2 separate regions of the Homo sapiens genome follow, and region 1 is linked to region 2. The links are contacts of gene promoters, found by promoter capture Hi-C in human tissues and cell types (Jung and others, 2019). All regions are on one chromosome and are shown on one strand. The core of a region is centred on a gene start or on the middle of the fragment in contact, and the rest is flanking DNA. Distances in the headings are between cores, read along the strand shown.

Region 1 (6,752 bases), core at 1,066-3,565, 150 kb after region 2:
AATATATATATATATATAATATAAACATATAATTGTATATATATCATATAAACATATATTTATATATATATATATATATATATATATATATATATTTTTTTTTTTTTTTTTTTTTTTTTTTTTCTTATAGAGATGGGGCCTCACCATGTTGCCCAGGTTGATCTCAAACTCCTGGGCTCAAGCTATCCTCCCACCTAAGCCTCCCAAAGTGTTGAGGTTATAGAATTGAGCCACCATGCCTGGCCTGGTGTTGTATTTTCAAGGGTATACATACCCCCAGCTGACTAGATGTTTTCTTTCAGGTATGTTTATGCATATATTCATCCAAGAATGAAGCACTTACTTACTTCCTCCACTCTTCCCCTATGGCTGTTCTAATCAAAGAGGTATCATCCCATAAATGCAAGATTTGGCAAAGACAAGAACAGATTCCCCATCTCCTATCTATAACCTAAGGCCAAGAGTGCCCTTTATTACTATATTCAGAACTCAGAAAGAATTCCTGTGGGTTAGAGCCCCAAGCTAAGCCCTCCAAGCCTTAAAAGTCCTTCTATTCAATTCTGTGCTGGGAGGACCCTGAACGATATATGGGATGGAGGGGTGAAGGTGGAAGTGGGGGGAAGCAGGTGCCAGGCGGACAAGCCCATTCTCAAACCTGCTGCCTCGCCTGGATTGACTGCCAGACAGCTCTCAATATGCCTGGTTTGTGAGGAAGGGTGAGGGAAGGAAGGGTACATGGGTAGAACTGGTCAGCCCTCTGCATAGATAGCCAGGGTTTTGGATTGAGTATCCTCTCTTCTACACCATGTTCAGCTCAGAAGCCGGAAGTGCTCCTCAACTAGAGGCCAGATACTCTCTTCTGCAACTCACAGCCAACATGACACACACAAACAGACACTCATCTTCAAGCCTTGATGGTGAATGGTCTCAACCCAACTTCCTCACATCTACACCTCCAACCACTGCCTTCGGTGGCTTTGCTCCCTTTACCTGACTAAATGATTCCATTTCCTCTGTCCTAACCCTCTTCCCTTTTCTCAGGAATTCAGAGTCATTCTTACCCATACCAGCAATCAGGGTCAGGAAACCCAATCAGAAAGAAAAACTTGAAGAGGAAGGCGGGCATCCGGATCCTATCACTCCCCAGTGACCAGCAAGACACTCTCTCTCCAGGTACTGGGTTGGAAAGTGAGAGAACTGAATTCTGGCTCTCCTACCTTCACACTCTTCAGAACTGGAAAAGAAGCTTTTCTGCCAGGCACGGTGGCTCATGCCTGTAATCCCAGTGCTTTGGGAGGCCAAGGTGGGCGAATCACTTGAGGTCACAAGTTCAAGACCAGCCTGGCCAACATGGTGAAACCCCATCTCTACTAAAAATAGAAAAATCAGCTGGGCATGGTGGCACATACCTGTAGTCCCAGCTACTCGGAGGCTGAGGCAGGAGAATTGCTTGAACCTGAGAGGCAGAGGTTGCAGTGAGCCGAGATCACGCCATTGCACTCCAGCTTGGGCAAGAGTGAGACTCCGTCTCAAAAAAAAAAAAAAAAATTAGCAGGGAGTTGTGGTGTGCACTCATAATCCCAGCAACTCGGAAAAGGCTGAGGCACAAGAATCGCTTGAACCTGGGAGGCAGAGGTTACAGTGAGCCGAGATCACGCCACTGCATTCCGGCCTGGGTGACAGAGACTGTGTCTCAAAAAAAAAAAAAGCTTTTCTTAATAATATTACTGCTGCCCAAAGACATGACTCCCTACACTAAGCAGCAGCAATGGAAGGGGTGTCCCCCAACTCTCACTACCCAACGTGGTATACTACAGATGTCCCAAAAGGATTCCACAGCATCCTAGAAATGGATCCCCAGCCCCCTCCCTGAGTTCAGTGGTTTGACCTACTTTTAGCAGATGCCTAAAAACATCGAATGTACTAAATACATACTTGTCAACTTCCTGCTGTAACCAACCTAGGCGCTTGAACTGGAAGTGGTGTATGCAGTGAATCCCCAGAGCCTTTAGACCTTATACCTCAAGGCTGAGAAACCCACACATACATTCATTCTCTGCCACTGCCCCTATACTCTGCAATGAAGGGGAGGGTTTTGCCCTCCATCCCACCTTAGCCAACCTAAGCCCTTCCACTGGCTTTCTACAGGCTCATTTGGGAAGCTCCCTTGCCCAGATTATCCTGAAGTGGACCCTGGGTCCAAGTCTTCCGCCAGTCCATGACTGATGCTATGCATGTTCTGGAAGATGGGATTGCTGTTTGTCCTAAGAGCTGGGTGCTAAGTATCTACCTCCCAGGTTCAGTCTCCTCTTCATCCCCTATCCCCTCAAAAGAACTGGAAGGCTTCAGCAACTGCCACAAGAGGGCTCCCCTCTACTTCCTTCCTGGCATTCTAAATTGAGTACTAAGGGACAGATGGGAATAGGTCATCCTCTTCCCCAAGTTGTTCAGGGGTCCAAAGACCCCCCAGTGGCCCACCATTCAGCTAAAGTCCTCTCCCTTATCATTATGAGAGGTTGTAGCTCTGAAAGATATCTATTTGCTAATATAGAAATAAAACACCTGGCCGGGCGTGGTGGCTCACGCCTGTAATCCTAGCACTTTGGGAGGCTGAGGTGGGCAGATCACCTGAGGTCAGGAGTTCAAGACCAGTCTCACTAACATGGAGAAACCCATCTCTACTAAAAATACAAAATTAGCCGGGTGTGGTGGCGCATGCCTGTAATCCCAGCTCCTCAGGAGGCTGAAGCAGGAGAATTGCTTGAACCCGGGAGCCCAGGAGGAGAGGCTGTGGTGAGCCGATATCGTGCCATTGCCCTCCAGCCTGGGCAACAAGACCAAATTCCGTCTCAAAAAAAAAAAAAAAAAAAAAGAAGAAGAAGAAAGAAAACACTTGGGAAAGATACTCTTATCAGCACCCTGTCACCAAGCAGAACTTTGGAGAAGCCTGGAAGGAGGAAAGTGTCATCTGATCTTGAGGAGTAGGTGGGTAATGTTCAAAGTCATTGGGATTGATAAGACATGTCTGGTTGGAGTAGTTTGAGAGTTATATATGGGTGGAAGCACTGGTCCTTGAGGGTGATGGCCTATTAATAATAGAAGTGCTGAAAAGGAAAATTGGCAGGGGAGGCAGCAGGGAAGTAACTGAATATAAATTATATGCTTCACACTGGTACTTGGGGCTCTCAAACTTATTATATGCCTAAATCCTATCCCTTTCCCACAAAAGCAGGCTGGGAAGACCTCTGTCCTCAAAGCTTAAGAAAATATTAAGATTGGGGAAGGCTTGCCTGGCTCACCCAGACCTCACCCACCCTAAAGGTAGCACCATCCCTTTCTTTGCCTGGAGCCAGACACTGGTAGCAGGGGAGGAACAGAATAGTGGTGGGAGTGCGATGGGAGGATGGAGGCTTTATGGAAAAGGTCTATTCCTCAAGACATTTGTGGGATCTCTGGATGAGGCTTGGCATCCTGACAATGAAAAACCACACGCCTGAAGTAGAGCTGATGCAGGGCCATCAGTTGTAAGAAGGATTAAGGTCATTACACTGCCCAGACGTTTATCCTTCATGTTTATTCACTGCCAAAGTCCAGAACTAGACTAGTGAGGGGGTCTCTGTTCAAACTAGAAGCACCTCATGTGCAAGGCTGAGGAGATCTGAGAGTAGAGGCACATGGGGCCCTCCAAGTTCAGGGCCCTTCAGCCAGTGAAGTCCATACAGTCTACCAACAGGTGAGAAATACAGCTGATTTCAGGTTTAAACCCTTTAGAACTAGAGGAGGAAAGTCACGAAGCCCTCACACTCTGATGCCCAATTCATTTGGGCTCCCCCGCCGCGGGGTATGATGGGAAGAAATAACCAGTGTGGAGTGGCACTAAGTTCCTCCATAACCTTACTCTCTATCAATCAAGTGTGCCTTTTACCCCTTTGCTGAAAGAAGGAGCACTATGGAGAGAGGGACCAGAAACAGGACTCCCCTCACCATGAAACTACTGTCCCACGGCTGCTGCACAGCAAAGATGAAGGTCGGCTCCAAAGCTGCATAAAACAAGTTTAATTTCCAACCAGGGTCACAGTCATCGCGTTATCCCACATTTTGAGCAAGGATAGAGAAGGTGAGTTATTAAACATATACAGTCTACATTCCAGAGGAGGAACTGCAGTTACCACTATAACACCACAGACAAACTTTGGGGTGGGGGGAGCGGGAGTCCTCAGGAAGCAGAAAGCTGGAATCAGGGAAAGCATAAAATTAAACCTACCAGAGAGGAGAGGAGAGGGAGTGGGCAGAAATGGAATGAAACACCCAATCCCAAAAGAGCTGTTAAGTGAATGGGAATGTAGAAAGGACCACCCCTGCCAAGGGCTTAGCAGCCAGGGATACTACCAAGATCACTTACTGCCCCCTGCTGGACAGATCTGGGGCAGCACCAAGGCAACCTCCTAACATTTCCAGCCCCAGATTGGTCCCTGGAGCCCCCAAAAAAACAAGGTGAGGGGTGAGGCCTGAAGTGAGGAAAACCTATTTAGGACTGACATCTAACTAGAGAAAGTCAGGGAATGAGGCAGGAGAAGAGGCAAAGTCCTCATGAACCACAAAGATAGAGTGGAAAATCCTAAGTAGGAAAAAATACATGGAAAAGGGCAAATGAGCAACAGCAGTGAATGAGTTGAGATTGAAAAGGAAAGAGTTCAAGGAAGGAGAGGCAATGGGGCAAGACAAAATAAATCTGAGGAAACAGAGCAAATAAAAAGTATGGAGGGAAGCATCTGTGGGGCCAGGGAAATGAATACATTTTTAAATGAAATAGAACCTCCAACACCCCCCCCACAACCACCACACACAAACACACCCACACCCATATACACACACACTCACACACACACACAGGCCTAGAGAGCAAGATACCTGCACACACCTGCTGCATCCTGGGTAACACATCACTAAGTAACTGGCACTGAGGGAGATACCCCTGGAACCTCTCTTTCACAGTTCAATCTTGGATGGGGTTACTAATATTGATCCATCTGCTATCAACAAAAGTGGCCAGGAAACCTGGCCCCATGGAGTGGGGCTTGGGACAGCCCTACTGGGAAGGGGTCCCTCAGCCATGCTGTGGGGGGCCCTGGGCCCTGACCTTAGCAGGTTATGGGCAGCTGTCTCGGAGCTCAGGGCGCAGCCAGCACACACAGGAGCCCACAGGACAGCCACGTCTTCACAGAAACTACAGAAGTCAGGACCCAGGCGAGGACCTCAGGAACAAGTGCCCCCTGCAGACAGAGAGACGCAGTAGCAACAGCTTCTGAACAACTACATAATAATGCGGGGAGAATCCTGAAGACCACTGCATCCCACAAGCACTGACAACCACTTCAGGATTTTATTTCCTCCACTCTAACCCCCAGATCCATTTATGAGAAGTGAGTGAGGATGGCAGGGGCATGGAGGGTGAAGGGACAGCAAGGATGGTCTGAGGGCCTGGAAACAATAGAAAATCTTCGTCCTTTAGCATATCCTGGACTAGAAAACAAGAGTTGGAGAAGAGGGGGGTTGATACTAAGGTCAGCTATGTCACCCCACTTCCCAGCTCCTCATTAGAATACCCAGTCAGCCCTGGTCAGGCCAGTAGGAGTACTAGGGTGAGAAAATTCTGACCAAGGACAGATGACCCATCCAACCCCTAAGATCAGAAGGGTGGTGGGGCACTGGAAGGCAGGAATGGGATTGGCCCATGCCTCACCTTCTCCTAATAACAAAAGAGAATGAAGATGGAAAACCTCAGGCCTTCGCCTCCCTTCCCCCAATGCCCTGGGTCCCTAACACACACCATGGACTTGCCATCCCCACCCCCCAGTCAAGCTCCAGAGGAACAGATCTGAAGATGGTGGGGAAGGATCAGTTGAACACTCTAAGCTGATAAGAGTGAGTGGGTTCCTCTCTCCTTCCCAACAGTAAGGCAGAGCAGAGTGGCATCTCCTTGGGAACAGTCATCTAGAGATAAATGCCATCCTCCAGCCCTAAGAAGGGTGGAGAGAAGAGTACAAGGAAAATGGTGGTGAAGAATCCATCATCTGTCCTATCATCCAGAAAAACCTACCTGCAGAGAGGAGGGTAACCAGTCAAAGACTGGGGCAGTCCGGCTTGACTAATGCCCTCCCACCTTCTTCCCTTAATCTCACCAACACGGAAGGGGCAGATGACAGGCTCCAGTGGGCAGTGTCCTGGCTGCAAGCCCTGAGCTTCACTCCACCCCCTCCCCGCTCCCCCCGGCCCCCACAAATATATCTCTCTATACATGTATATACAGGCGCACACATGCACGCAAACACAGAGAGGCCCGTGCAATTTCCATGTAAAACAGGGAGAGGGTGGCAAAGGAAAGGCAAACAGGGAGTAGAAGGGCTTGTGGGGACAGGGAAAGGACTCAGATGCCAAGAGGACAGCAACCACTGCCAAACAAAGAGAATACCCCACTCGACCTCCCGAAACCCAGAGGGTGAGAGAGAGAGGGGCCACCCCATGAAACCGTAACAACTTTTTGTTTTAAATCCAGTAAATTGGAATGACTCATCATCAGGACAGCAATTAGGGATTGGTCATATAGGTGGACAGGAAAAAGGAGGGGAGGCAGGGGAGGCAAGGCTCTTGCTGGGCATGTGGACATGATACCCAGGGCCCTGGCCACACTTGCATGGAGAGGAAGGGGTAGGACTGGGGCAGGGTGACAGTAGGTATGTCAGGGGTGGGTG
Region 2 (6,740 bases), core at 1,891-4,390:
GACTCCATGATGATACCTTTAATGTGACTCCTGGCTGAGCCCAGGTCAGAATAAGATGAGGCTGACAGCACTGTCATCCATGCATGCCTGTGTCCCCACCAGGGCCACACTCCTCTATGCTCACAGAGTACCCTGAGGGGTCCCTTGTAATTAAACCTGCTGAGCTAGCAGCACTGACATTTGTACTCACTCGGGGACAGGATGGAGGAATACTCAGCACTTGCCCCAGGTGGCCATAGAATGAGAGCTCAAGCCAGATGGGCAGCGCTTGAAGCAGACACCCAGGGACCCACACGCAGAAGGCAGGCTGGGGAATTCTCTGCATACCCCAAACCTCCCATCCCTGAGTCACCCTCAGCCAAGATCTGTCAGCACCCCTTCTCCTATATCCCACAGAGCAGCACGTCCTTCAACCTCCTTTTGTTTTTTGGTTTAAGACGGAGTCTCACTCTGCCCCACCTAGGCTGGAGTGCAGTGGCACAATCTCAGCTCACTGCAACCTCTGCCTCCTGGGTTCAAGCAATTCTGCCTCGGCTTCCCCATAGCTGAGATTACAAGCACCTACCACCACACCCGGCTAAATTTTGTATTTTTAGTACAGACAGGGTTTAACCATGTTGGCCAGGCTGGTCTCGAACTCCTAACCTCAGGTGATCTGCCTGTCTCGGCCTCCCAAAGTGCTGGGAGTATAGGCATGAGCCACCATGCCTGGCCCCTTCAACCTCTTAACATCACCAACAGCACCATCTGGAAGGACAGATCAGGAATACAAGACTTTTGGTCAGGCTGGCATTTGGAAAAGGTCACCAAAGAAAGCCTTGCTCTTCAAAATACTTCATTAGAAGCATGATCTTTGGCATGAGACCAGGGTTCCAAACCTTAGCGTGATTATTTGCTAGCCACACTGCCTTGGGCAAGTTATTTAACCTCTCTGTGTCAGTACCTTCATCTGCAAAATGGAAATGATAATGGTCCTCAGGAAAGAATCTAATAATGCCTGTCAAGAAGTACACACTTGAAAAATATTAGTTCTTCTCCTCACTCTACAACACTTTAAACCCAAACCTCTGTCATCGTCAAGAGATGGAAAGATGAGGAAATCATGAGCAAGAACACACGTCTTTCTAGCCAGTCAGATGCCTGGTTCTATCAGTCCCTGTGTCCTTGGCTGTCAGTCCCCAGAGCTGCTGGAGACAGAGCCCAGAGTGAGCAGGTTTCCCACCACCATCCACCACCCACAACATTTTGCTTCAGCCTCCTCCATTCACCAGTCCCCTTCCCTGTTCTTATCTCCCCCAACACACCACCCCCACCAGCACTGGCCCGGACCTGTTCCCAAAGGACTAGTTTCTGGCCATGTTCCAAGCCCCCTGGAAACACATCCTAGCATCTGGCTCATACTCACAGAGAAAGGGGCAAATGCTATCCAGGAGAATGCATGACCCTCCCAGGAACACTCTGACCCCCCCCAAGGGGATAGCTTCAGAGCTATGTAATTGTCCAACCAACTGCAACCATCCCACCCTGGGCTCCACTCCAGGCACTGCCCATCCCGCAGAACTTGCCGGCCTCCCAACATTTCTGGCACCCCATGCCAGACTGGTATGGCAGGAAACAGGGTAGAGCACTGTTCCAAGCCACAAAATTTCTCTATATGGTCCCCCAACCCACTTTGTCCAGCAACCCATCACTATGAGCCCTGGGAGCACAGACCACCTCCCTCCTCCCCAGAGTCAGGCTCCTAAGCCTTGTGCCTCTACCTTCTCCTCCCCTGAGTGTTGGTCCATTTGCACTCTCACAGATCTGCTGTTCTTCATACCACCGGCTCCCACAGCCACAGCCATGTCCCATTCAGCCTGGCAGGCCCAGGCTCAGTGCCTCCCAGACCTCAAGTCCCTCCCAAACCCTGATCAGGCTGAGACCAGAGTTTGGAACCAGCCAAGGCCAAGGCCCAGCCCTAAGGATGGCTCTGCCCACTGCCTTGCCAAGCCTTCCTGGCCACCTCCTGTCTATCCCATCCCCAGGGCCCATCTGCCCCTGCCCTCCTTGGCAAAAGGAGGCTCCAGGGGATTAAAAACGACTTCAGAAAGTTCATGGTAAGAGGCACTGCCCAGGCGGGGCCCAGCAGTGCCAGCACCACCCACCATACTCGGACATGGGCCTCAATTCTTCAATTCTGGGCCTTTCCAGATGTAGAGGAGCCTACCCAGGGCCTGTATCTGTCGGTCCAGTGCCCGCTGCCGCCTTCTCCCATCCCCAGTCCTCACTCTCCCTAAAGATTACAGAGGGCTCCCACATCACCCTTTACTATGCAACCCCCACCAGGTCCCTCCAGCTCACAGGGGTAATCTGGTAAGGAGAGGATATGGGCAAAGAGGCTCCCACGCCTGATTCCACCTCTAGCCTTTCAGTCGAGCCCCAGAGTCTGCTTTGAATAAAGTCAGCTCCCCTGCCCACCCTGCGGCAGGCCTTGGGGGATGTGGGGAGCCGACCCCACCCCTTTCATTCCCAAGGTTTTGGGTGAGGGGAAGGAGAGGGACTCCCGCAGACAGAGGGCATCCCTCCCTCTGCCCAGGCCGGTTCCTCTCCCCTAAATGGAATCTCCCCCAAACTCGGAGACACCCCACAGCCCCGCAGCAAAAAACTCAGGCCAGCCCCTCCCCCAGTACGTGCCAGATCCTCCTGGCCTCCGGGCCAGCCTGGAACTCGCCCCGTGGAGGGAGGCAGGCGGCGGGCGACGGGGGTGGCGAGCGCCGGACCTAGGAGTCCTCGATCCCACTGCCTCCATGACTTCCCTTTGCCAACCCCAACTCCCTCGGGCAACACTGCCGAGACGACCCGTCCAAGGCTTCGGCGCCCCCACCCACAAACTCTTGTCGAGAGCCGCTCGGGTGCGTTCCAATCCTGGCGCACCGGGAGCCCGAGCGGCCACTTCCCCTAGCCCTCAGCGCGCTCACCTGCCGGCCCGGCTCCGCGCCTGCCCTGGGCCCCCGCCCCGCCGCCCCCGCGGGCTCCGGCCGGCCGGCCGGCCGTCCCGCGGTCCTCCGAGCCCGCGCGTCCTGGCCGTCCCGCCCGCCGTCCGCCGTCCGCCGTCCGCCCGGCCCTCGCCCCCTCCCGAGCTGTCCAGCGCAGCCGCCCTCTACCCCGGATCCAGAAGTCCCCTCCCCGCTGGCTCCCGGACTCCCCGCCTTAAAGGCACAAGCTCCTTTTGTCTGGGCATCCCCCTCCCCCTCCCCAGAAGTGGGGGCCGAGTTGCCCACTCCCCTTCCTAGCAGCGGGGTAGGGGCGGAGGAGGCCAAATAATGGGACCCCTCCCTCCGCGCGCCCCCTCCTCTCCTCCGGCCGCTTCCTCCCCCAGTCCTGGGAAGACAAGCAGCTACTGTTCTGGGATCAAGACCCCGCGGGGAGGGGACCTCGCAGCCCGGTCCCCTTCCCTTCACCCCGGCCGCCTCCTCCGGCATTCCTCTCCCGCCCTCACCCCGGGGGTCCCCGAGCGCGCCCGCAAACCCACCCCTCACGGCTACATCCCCCGCCCCGCCCACCGAGGGTCGCCTTCCTTCCTGTCAGGGTCCCAGGGGTTGGGCCGGCGCCCCGCGCCCACTCTTCATCCCCAATTCCTCCCTGCCCCTGCCCCAGCCCCAGCCCCCACCTAGCCATTCCCGCCCTGCCTGTCACGGCCCTGCGCCCTCCCGCGGGAACTCAGTTTAATAATTAATTAAGCTCTCATTCCACAAGGCGCCAGGTGTGTGCGGCCTGCTTGCCCGCACACCACTTCTTTCCTCTTCCCCCCAGTCTCTGGGGCAGCGGCCCCGAGGCGAACCTCGGGGCCCAGTGGAGGGACCCAGGGAAGGGGCACTCTCCCTGCCGCCCCCACAACCCCCCGCCCTACTCTCTGGGAGCCCCTCCCCCGCACCTGCCAACTTGCAGCCTCACCCCCAGGCATCTTTTACCCAAAGGGCTGTGCTTCTCTGCTGGGGGTTGGAGGGGCTACTGGGGTGCATTGCTAAGTGCACGAACTGAGAAACTGGGTCTTTAGTTATTTCCAGCACGGAGCAGCTGCCCAAGTTACCTGGGAGATGGGAAAATCGTGTGAAAGCTGGTTAACCCTTTGAGGATTAGAGTAATGGTGGAAGCAGAAAGGAGAAGGAGTTTCACTCCAGGATGTACGTAGGTGAGTGTGACTTTAGAGGGGGTGCCATTCTGGAGCTGGGAAGAAGGCAGCCTGCCTGGCTTCCTTTTGAGGCCCCCTCTCCATTCCCTCAGTCAGACCTCTAGCTCCTCCTTCCAATTCAGCCCTTCCCCAAGCAGCCTATTCCCCACCCAAGATCCCAAGACCTAGGTATCTGAAGATGCTTCCTCCTCAGGACCAGCCCTCCCTGCAGTCCTGTCCTTCAAGACTCAAGTCTTGTCCACTCCAAATCACCACTGGGATTCCTAAGTCCAGGACAGAGCTTCAGGCAAGGAAAAGAAGAGTTGGGAAAGCCAGTTTCCAACATTTATCAGCCACGTGTACCTGCAAACTATATACCTTGGGTAAATCATCAATCTCTTGAAATGGGAATAAAACCATCTGCCTTGTCTTTCTTACAGGGTTTTCAGAATCAGATAGAGAAATGTTTGTTATAATGTTTGAAAATGGGAAAGTGGTACTTTCTCATTTCTCAGTTGTGCAGGCCTGGCCTGCAATTTGATCTTTGGGGCCTCTTTGCCTGACTTCTCACTTCAAAATTTCCTTAAAAATTGTTTTTGCTGGCCGGGCGCGGTGGCTCACGCCTGTAATCCCAGCACTTTGGGAGGCCGAGGCGGGTGGATCACAAGGTCAAGAAATCGAGACCATTCTGGCCAACATGGTGAAACCCCGTCTCTATTAAAAATTAGCTGGGCGTGGTGGCGGGCACCTGTAGTCCCAGCTACTCGAGAGGCTGAGGCAGGAGAATCGCTTGAACCCGGGAGGCGGAGGTTGCAGTGAGCCGAGATCACGCCATTGCACTCCAGCCTGGGAGACAGAGCGAGACGCCGTCTCAAAAAAAAAAAATTGTTTTTGCTATCAAAATTTCCTCTTCAAAATACCTGAATCAGGTTATCTACCACTTACGCTTAGAATAATGTGCTCATGAGCCACATGGGGAAAATGCAAAAAACAATTGAGATAAATATGCGTTAAAAAATGAAATTTTAGGCCGGGTGCGGTGGCTCATGCCTGTAATCCCAGCACTTTGGGAGGCTGAGGCGGGCGGATCACAAGGTCAGGAGATCAAGATCATCCTGGCTAACACAGTGAAACCCCATCTCTACTAAAAACACACAAAAAATTAGCTGGGCGTAGTGGGGGGCGCCTGTAGTCCCAGCTACTCGGGAGGCTGAGGCAGGAGAATGGCGTGAACCCGGGAAGCGGAGCTTGCAGTGAGCGGAGATTGCGCCACTGCAGTCCGCAGTCCGGCCTGGGCGACAGAGCGAGACTCCGTCTCAAAAAAAAAAAAAAAAATTAAATTTTAGCTGGGCATGGTGGCTCATTCCTTTAATCCCAGCACTTTGGAAGGCCAAGGCAGGCAGATCACGAGGTCAGGAGTTTGAGACCAGCCTGACCAAAATGGTGAAACCCCGTCTCTACTAAAAATACAAAAATTATTGGGGAGTGGTGGCGCGCGCCTGTAATCCCAGTTACTAGGGAGGCTGAGGCAAGGGAATCGCTTGAACCTGGGAGGCGGAAGTTGCAGTGAGCTGAGATTGCGCCACTGCACTCCAGCCTGGGCAACACAGCAAGACTCTGTCTCAAAAAAAAAAAAAAATTAGCCCAGCGTGATGATACGTGCTTATAGTCCCAGCACCTTCCAGGCTCAAGTGATTCTCCTGTGTCAGCCTCCCGAGTAGCTGGGATTACAGGCGCCCACCACCACACCTGGCTAATTTTCGTATTTGTAGTAGAGAGACGGTTTCTCCATATTGGCCAGGCTGGTCTCAAACTCTTGACCTCAGGTGATCTAACTGCCTCAGCCTCCAAAAGTGCTGGGATTACAGCCGTGAAGCCACCGTGCCTGGCCTTAGAATCTTTTTTTTTTTCTTGAGACCGAGTTTCGTTCTGTTGCCCAGGCTAGAGTGCAGTGGCACGATCTCTGCTCACTGCAGCTTCTGCCACCTGAGTTCAAGTGATTCTCCTGCCTTAGCCTCCCCAGTAGCTGGGATTACAGGTGCATGCCGGACATGAATATTAGAGTCTTAAGTTCCGACAGGGCAGGGCCACCATCAAATCTATTTCTAGCACTACAGAATATTAGGACTTTTTTTTTTTTTTTTGAGACAGGGTCTTGCTCTGTTGCCCAGGCTGGAGTGCAATGGCACGATCTCGGCTCACTGTAACCTCTGCCTCCTGAGTTCAAGCGATTCTACGTCAGCCTCCCAAGTAGCTGAGACTACAGGCGCTTGCCACCATGCCCGGCTAATTTTTGTATTTTTAATAGAGACAGGTTTCACCATGTTGTCCAGGCTGGTCTCAAACTCGAGCTCAAGCAATCCACCCGTTGTGGCCTACCAACGTGTTGGGATTACAGGCATGAGCCACCGCGCATGGCCAATTGGAAGGTTTTAACTCTGACAAAGAGAAGAAAGAGAGAGGCAGTCAGCAGGAACTGTATTTCTCCACGTCTAGCTTGCTTGATCTCAACGACCTTTTTTTTTTTTTTTTAATAATACAGACCATAGTCACAAGAGTGATGTATTTTCAATCTCTCATTTTCAGGAAG

Evidence for each region. The method cuts DNA at HindIII sites, captures the fragments that hold promoters and counts their contacts. A contact is called where the count stands out against the background at its distance.
Region 1: a contact is called between a fragment that was not itself captured here and the fragment with the promoter of ADCY6 in region 2, in 1 of the 25 tissues and cell types used here (adrenal gland).

The regions. Positions count from the first base shown.
Region 1 is chr12:48,932,168-48,938,919 of GRCh38, forward strand. It overlaps ARF3 (ARF GTPase 3), which reads right to left. Exons shown (of 5, transcript NM_001659.3): 5 at 3,556-6,752. It also overlaps a transcript of FKBP11 not described here. Among named protein-coding and RNA genes, the nearest start is that of FKBP11, 10 kb to the left of the region's middle. RefSeq lists a silencer at 4,322-4,511. The HindIII fragment of the contact is 5,943 bases long and covers 1-5,287 here.
Region 2 is chr12:48,785,949-48,792,688 of GRCh38, forward strand. ADCY6 (adenylate cyclase 6) reads right to left here and starts at 3,141. Exons shown (of 22, transcript NM_015270.5): 1 at 2,958-3,141. It overlaps ADCY6-DT (ADCY6 divergent transcript), which reads left to right and starts at 3,199. Exons shown (of 3, transcript NR_110019.1): 1 at 3,199-3,279; 2 at 4,037-4,171; 3 at 4,365-4,587. RefSeq lists an enhancer at 1,544-2,088. The HindIII fragment of the contact is 15,533 bases long and covers 1-6,740 here.